2 separate regions of the Homo sapiens genome follow, and region 2 is linked to region 1. The links are contacts of gene promoters, found by promoter capture Hi-C in blood cells and fetal thymus (Javierre and others, 2016). All regions are on one chromosome and are shown on one strand. The core of a region is centred on a gene start or on the middle of the fragment in contact, and the rest is flanking DNA. Distances in the headings are between cores, read along the strand shown. Region 1 holds the start of NTS (neurotensin). Region 2 overlaps C12orf50 (chromosome 12 open reading frame 50).

Region 1 (2,885 bases), core at 320-2,819:
AGACGTATGTATTTCACATTTGTCAACTAAATACTTTACAGAAACCTTCCTCCATGTGAGTATGTTCAATATTGTGTTTTATGTAAGTTCAGAAAACAAACTAAAAGTAATAAATATATCAGTTATTATTAAATTTCTGGTATTATATGAAAGACTCCTTGCTATTCTAAGTAATTATTAAATGTTTGGATTTAATCGCTTTGCTTAAGTTTTGGGTAAAGGTGAAAAAGTTAAACTCATAGATTGTATAATATAAATCAATTATCTATAGGAACCAATCCTATTTTTTCTCAACTGTTACTACATGATTGATTTATTTAAAAATTAAACAAGACTCAGACAACTTTACATTCAAATATTCACATCTCTAACAGCACTGACTTGTCAAATTACCCCATGTATCTTGAAATGCTTACTACAAGAAGAAAGTTTTACTCTAAAAGGCATTTTGAACAATTTTCTTTTGAGAACTCAGACAAAGAATGGGTATCAGTGTAACTCATGAAATACATGAAGACTATCATAGAAAAGTGACTTTGGTGAATGGTGGTTATTTAGGATTGTCTCCTTTCCAAAAGTACAATCTCTTTTTTTATGGTGAAAAGAGTATTATAACAGGGAAAGAAAGCCGATGCAATAGTAAAAACTGTTGAGAAGGGAATTATACAAAGAGTGAGACATGGCATCAAGAATGAATTCAAAAAGAGCAGAAAAATATAGGCATAAAAAGAGATAATGTACAGAAAAAAAGTCAGTGATACAACAACACAAATTTTTACCTGCTAGAATGTAAGTAATTTAGAGCTGGATTTTATAAACATGAAATTGTTTTTCTAATACATTCAACCAAAAGTCAGCACACATAGTTCAGTCATCTCTCATTACTTACAATAAAATATTTTCTATTTGTTAGGAAATAATATCTTATTCCCTGGATCTATTATTTCTTTTTATTGATTTTCTTTCTATTCTCTAAACTTAATTGCTTAATTTTTATAACTGATTCTCTGTCTCTATTCCATCTTATTCCAGCATGGATTATTTAAAACCTGTATTAGTTTTGGAACCACTAAACATTTGCTCAGAAGTTTGAATTACCAGAGAAGCACCCTAACTCTTCAAGAACTTCCAAGCCTAAGGAATCACTGATTTCATGCATTCATCCTGGAGATTTTCCTTAAAAATTAGAAATAACAGATCTCATGTTTCACAAAATCAAAATGACAACTTTTGGAGTGGGGGAATGAGAAGTGGGAAAAGGATGATACTGGGGGTTCTTTGTCAGTATGCTGTATGTATGCTGTATGTCAGTGCAGTTGAATGACTCCTTCTGTGCGTCAGAAATCCAAAGCAGCAGCAGCAGCAATTAGGGAAGATCGTCACTTTCACTCAAGGTTCAGAAATGGGGGAGGAGAGCAGGGGGGACAAAGGAAAAGGGGAGGAGAAAGCAGGGCAAAGAGGGGAGGGATGGAGGTGAAGATAGGGCACATCCTGCAAAGATAATGTCTGTACAATCAATGACATCATCCTCCTGCTTATATATATAGGGGAATGGCCAGAGCACCTCTCATAGTTCACTCACTTTCAAAGCCAGCTGAAGGAAAGAGGAAGTGCTAGAGAGAGCCCCCTTCAGTGTGCTTCTGACTTTTACGGACTTGGCTTGTTAGAAGGCTGAAAGATGATGGCAGGAATGAAAATCCAGCTTGTATGCATGCTACTCCTGGCTTTCAGCTCCTGGAGTCTGTGCTCAGGTAAGCAAAACAGAATTTCACAACTCCCTGAAGTGATTTCTTTTTTCTCTTTTGCAGTGTGTTGCTACTTATGTTAATGTATCTGGGGAGAAGAGTTGCTCCCTTTTATTCAGGATTTACCTTTTAGTGACAGAAACTGAGTATCTCTTTCTCTGCCTTTATGATTACTGAGAGATGTATTTTCTCTTTTAAAATCTGCAAAGCAATAAAAGGGATTTCAATGAAACACTGCACGACCTCCTTTGGAATTCAACAACTAGAGGGAAAAAAACCCTACAAAACTTTCAATTAGGCTGATCATTATCTAATGAGAAATACAGAGGCAGTGGCTGTCAACCTGCAAACCCATCATTAAATCCCATTCCATTCAAAATGTTTTACTCTCATCCTCATTCATTCTCTTAGGAAGCGGTGGCCCTCACGCCCTTGTAATAGTCCCCGTATTATTTTCTTGTTTGTGTTAAGATAACAAATAAAGTGAAAATTGATACTTAGTGAAAAATGAAGCATTATTTGTAGAAAATTATTTCTAGAAAAATACAAAAATATTCCAGATCCTTTTTGAGAACAGAATTTGCATAGTCTAATAAGTGTGCTATTAATATAACTGTTTGGCATTTTTTCCATGCCATTTAAGTTAATACAAAATACAATTGGAAAATTGGTATTCTTATATTGATGGAAATTATTTGACTTTAGAGTGTTTTGCATGTGGTTTGAAAGAAGTTATATAGTCCTAAGTATCTACGAATAACTCACTTTGAAAATAAGACTTAAATTGAAAGGTATAACATGAAATATTACAACCATTGCAAAAGGCTCTACTTAATATTTAAGAAATATTACAATGAACACTTCAAAGGGAAAAGAACACATTAGGAAGCAAATGCAGCAAAAATAATTTAACCTGTTCTGTGCTTTTATGTATCATAAATATGACATGGAAATGTTTAACTCAAACTCATGCTATCATTTGATTTAAATTATGAAATTAAAATCTAAGAAGATATAAATGTGATTTATACAAAATTTTAAATTTATTTTAATCATCAGAACATAACTTTCAGCTTCTACTTTTTAAATCTTATGAGAAAAAACAAACTTTTCTATAATTATGATTTTATCTGAAAGTTA
Region 2 (3,343 bases), core at 828-3,327, 2.1 Mb after region 1:
CCAATATCAATACTCATGGTGCTTTCATGCATTGTTTTTATGTTTGTTTGTTGTTTGCAAACGTACGCAGAGTGGTGAAAATTTTGAGTTGCTGGACCCGCACATTCCTAGCTGAGGTCTAACAATGGCAGTGCTCAGCATTCTCATTTCAGTTCATACAGAGATGATCAGAGAATGGCTGGAGACAGGAGAGGGCAGCACAGCATGGTGGAAGAAGCTCTGGCTCTGGGGAGAGGTGGAAGGGGTTTGAGTCCCAGTTCTGAGGCTTGTTAGTGAGGCAACCTCAAGAGAGTCACTTAAGACTTCTGAACTTTGTTTTCTCTTTTGTAAAATAAGGAAAACAGAATATACCAGGATGAGTAATTTCTACGATTTAAGATTATAATCTGTGTGAGATGTAGGTATATGTGTGTGTGTACATAGTTCCCCGAGGAGCAATGGTTCAGTGTTTGCTAATTCAGTGTTCATGTCAGCTTTATATATAGCAACCAGGAATAACAAGAATCAATTGTGTGTGTGTTTGTGTGTGTATCAACTGTGTGTATATATATACTATATACATAGAGAGAGAAATGCCCACGTTTGTTTTCATATATATGTACACATATACAGTATATGTCTTACATGTAGATATGTGTGTATATATGTGGTATATATCTATCTATCTATAGAGATTTACTGCTACAATCAACATCATGGATCAGTCTAATACAAAGAGCATTAAGTAAAAGAATCCAAACTAAGAGTTCAAACTGTATATTTCCACTTATATAAAGGTCAAAAAATGCAAAATTAGCCTATAGTAATAGCGACCAGAGTACTGGTTACCACTGGGAGAAGACTATTGACTTGGAGAGAAAGAGCCATCTGGAGTACCATAAATATGGTTATATTGATACATACACAAGTAAAATTTTAACAAGCTATTCACTTCAGATCTGTGAACTTTATTAAAGTGCAATAACACATTAAAATAATATTAAGACAAGACAATGCCTCAAGTATTTTTCTTGAAATGAATACTAATTCATTAATTATAATTTCAGTTTTGATCATCTTCATTTCAAAGATGTCTTATGAATGCAGGAGCCTAAATATGTTTAGATATATCTATCATATACACATACCCAGAAGATTATTTTATCTAGTGACACAGAGAACATTATGATGCCTGGAAAATCAATAAGCTTGACTATACCAGAACTTAGTATACCAGATAATGGAATTTTTTAAATATTCTTTTAGTATGGTTTTTCAACTAGTTCATTACTCTAACAATATTATTAATATTAGGCTAATGACAGTATAATGACATTCTCACATTTTCTAACTCCCAACAAAGTAGGTAATATATTATTAATGTTACAACGTGAAGGAAAGTTTATTTTTATATGAAACCATTAGTCTATCAATGGTTAAAAATAACCTTTTATTAACCAAAAAAGCTATCTGATTTAATGATATTTCAACAAACTGTTCGATTAGAACTGCTCGGGTTAAGTGGATCCCACTTATATAGGTTAAATAGACAGTGGGAACTCCGTTAGGAGAGACTGCCAGTGTTTCTAATTTGTAGCTAAAACTTATTGCTTCAAGGCAACCAAACAATTACAGCTAGACTAAAACAATTACAGCTAGACTAAAACAGCTAGACTAAAACTGCTGCAGATGTAAGAAAGGAGAAAAAATAATCAAATTACCTTAGCACCAAAAAAAAAGGGCAGTGGGGGGCACACAGAAGAAAATGGCTGACACCAGGACAGCAGAAAGTATCACCAATATGCCTAAGAGATACTGGTACTTACTGATACCTGCTCTCAACCTCCTTCCTACTCTTCACACACATTCTTCCCATCAGCCACACCTTTCAACCTCCCCACAAAATCTCTATATATTTTCAAAACAAACGCTTGGAATTTTCAGTCAAAGGACAGATTTTCCAACATGTTTATGCTAAAAAGCAGTTCCAAAATATTTAAGCTATAATACACAGTTAGAATGTGATGACAAATGATATATATTTGAATATAGCTCCTTTAAAGTAGACTTTAAGTCCACTGGGCTCGGTGGCTCGTGCCTGTAATCCCAGCACTTTGGGAGGCCAAGGCGGGCAAATCACCTGAGGTAAGGAGTTTGAGGCCAGCCTGACCAACATGGTGAAACCCCGTCTCTACTAAAAATACAAAAATTAGCCGGGTGTGGTGGCACGCACCTGTAGTGCCAGCTACTTAGGAGGCTGAGGCAGGAGAATAGCTTGAACTCGGGAGATGGAGGTTGCAGTGAGCCGAGATCGCACCACTGCACTCCAGCCTAGGTGACAAAGTGAGACTTCCATCTCATAAATAAATAAATAAATAAATAAATAAGTAGATAAATAAAAAGTAGACTTAATCAAATGATTTATTAAGTGCCTCCTTCATTTATAGCTCTGTTATAGTATATTACAGCACATACATAACACCTGAATTCATTATAGTCTGGAGTTGAGCCTACACACAGACACACACACACACACATACATGCACACACACACACAGGTTTCTCATTAAAATATGAAAAATGGAATGTCTTATACACTGAACACAAATTCGCACAAGGTATTTGGCAGAGATTTTGGTCTCTGAAAGCAACTGATTTTGTGATATACCTCCAAACTCTTGTGTTAAACATGACATGGACAAAAAAAGAAAATTAGTTGTAAAAGATAAAATTCAGACTCATTTATTATGTGGTGATATATTCAGGGTCAATCAGTAATAAATTAACTCACCTCCATTTTCAAAAGCAGCAATGTCAGTCTTTGGTTTCCCATGCAATGATGTTTTTATTTCACCTTGCCTTTCATATTGGCTAAGTTTTGTCGGAACTGTAAGACTATCTCCTAGAAATAAGAAGAAAAAAAAGTCACCCCAGAAATTATTAGATGCTTAAATAAGAAATTTATGATAGAATGCATGATGAAAGTAAAAAAGCTTTAAAGTTAATGCAAGTATTGTTTGCACAGTGATCTGATAAACAATAAATTAATAAATACATGAGTTTTAAATTCTGTGTCAACAAAGAAGTAAGCAAGTATATTCTCCTATTTGGATTATTTATTCAATGGCAATTAAAAATTGTAAGCAATCTAACACTATTGTATATACATAATATATCTAGTTTGATATGTTTCTCATATAAGGAATTTTGTAATATTACTTTTGATTTTATCTGTTCACCATGAACAATCAGATAAAAAGTATTAGAGTCACTATTGACTACAAAATGCTAACTACACTGATAATTAAATAATACTCTCAGCTTTCCCCATGCATTTCTGGATAATTTTCTTCTAAAATAAACT

The links. Contacts are between HindIII fragments. The CHiCAGO score rates a contact against its expected background, and 5 or more counts as called.
Region 2: a fragment that was not itself captured here is called in contact with the fragment with the promoter of NTS in region 1 in 1 of 17 cell types (endothelial precursors); the score reaches 5.5 in endothelial precursors.

What each region holds. Positions count from the first base shown.
Region 1 is chr12:85,872,726-85,875,610 of GRCh38, forward strand. It overlaps NTS (neurotensin), which reads left to right and starts at 1,570. Exons shown (of 4, transcript NM_006183.5): 1 at 1,570-1,751. The coding sequence starts at 1,679. The HindIII fragment of the contact is 11,906 bases long and covers 1-2,885 here.
Region 2 is chr12:87,991,863-87,995,205 of GRCh38, forward strand. C12orf50 (chromosome 12 open reading frame 50) reads right to left here. Exons shown (of 13, transcript NM_152589.3): 7 at 2,771-2,881. Among named protein-coding and RNA genes, the nearest start is that of C12orf50, 36 kb to the right of the region's middle. The HindIII fragment of the contact is 1,785 bases long and covers 1,186-2,970 here.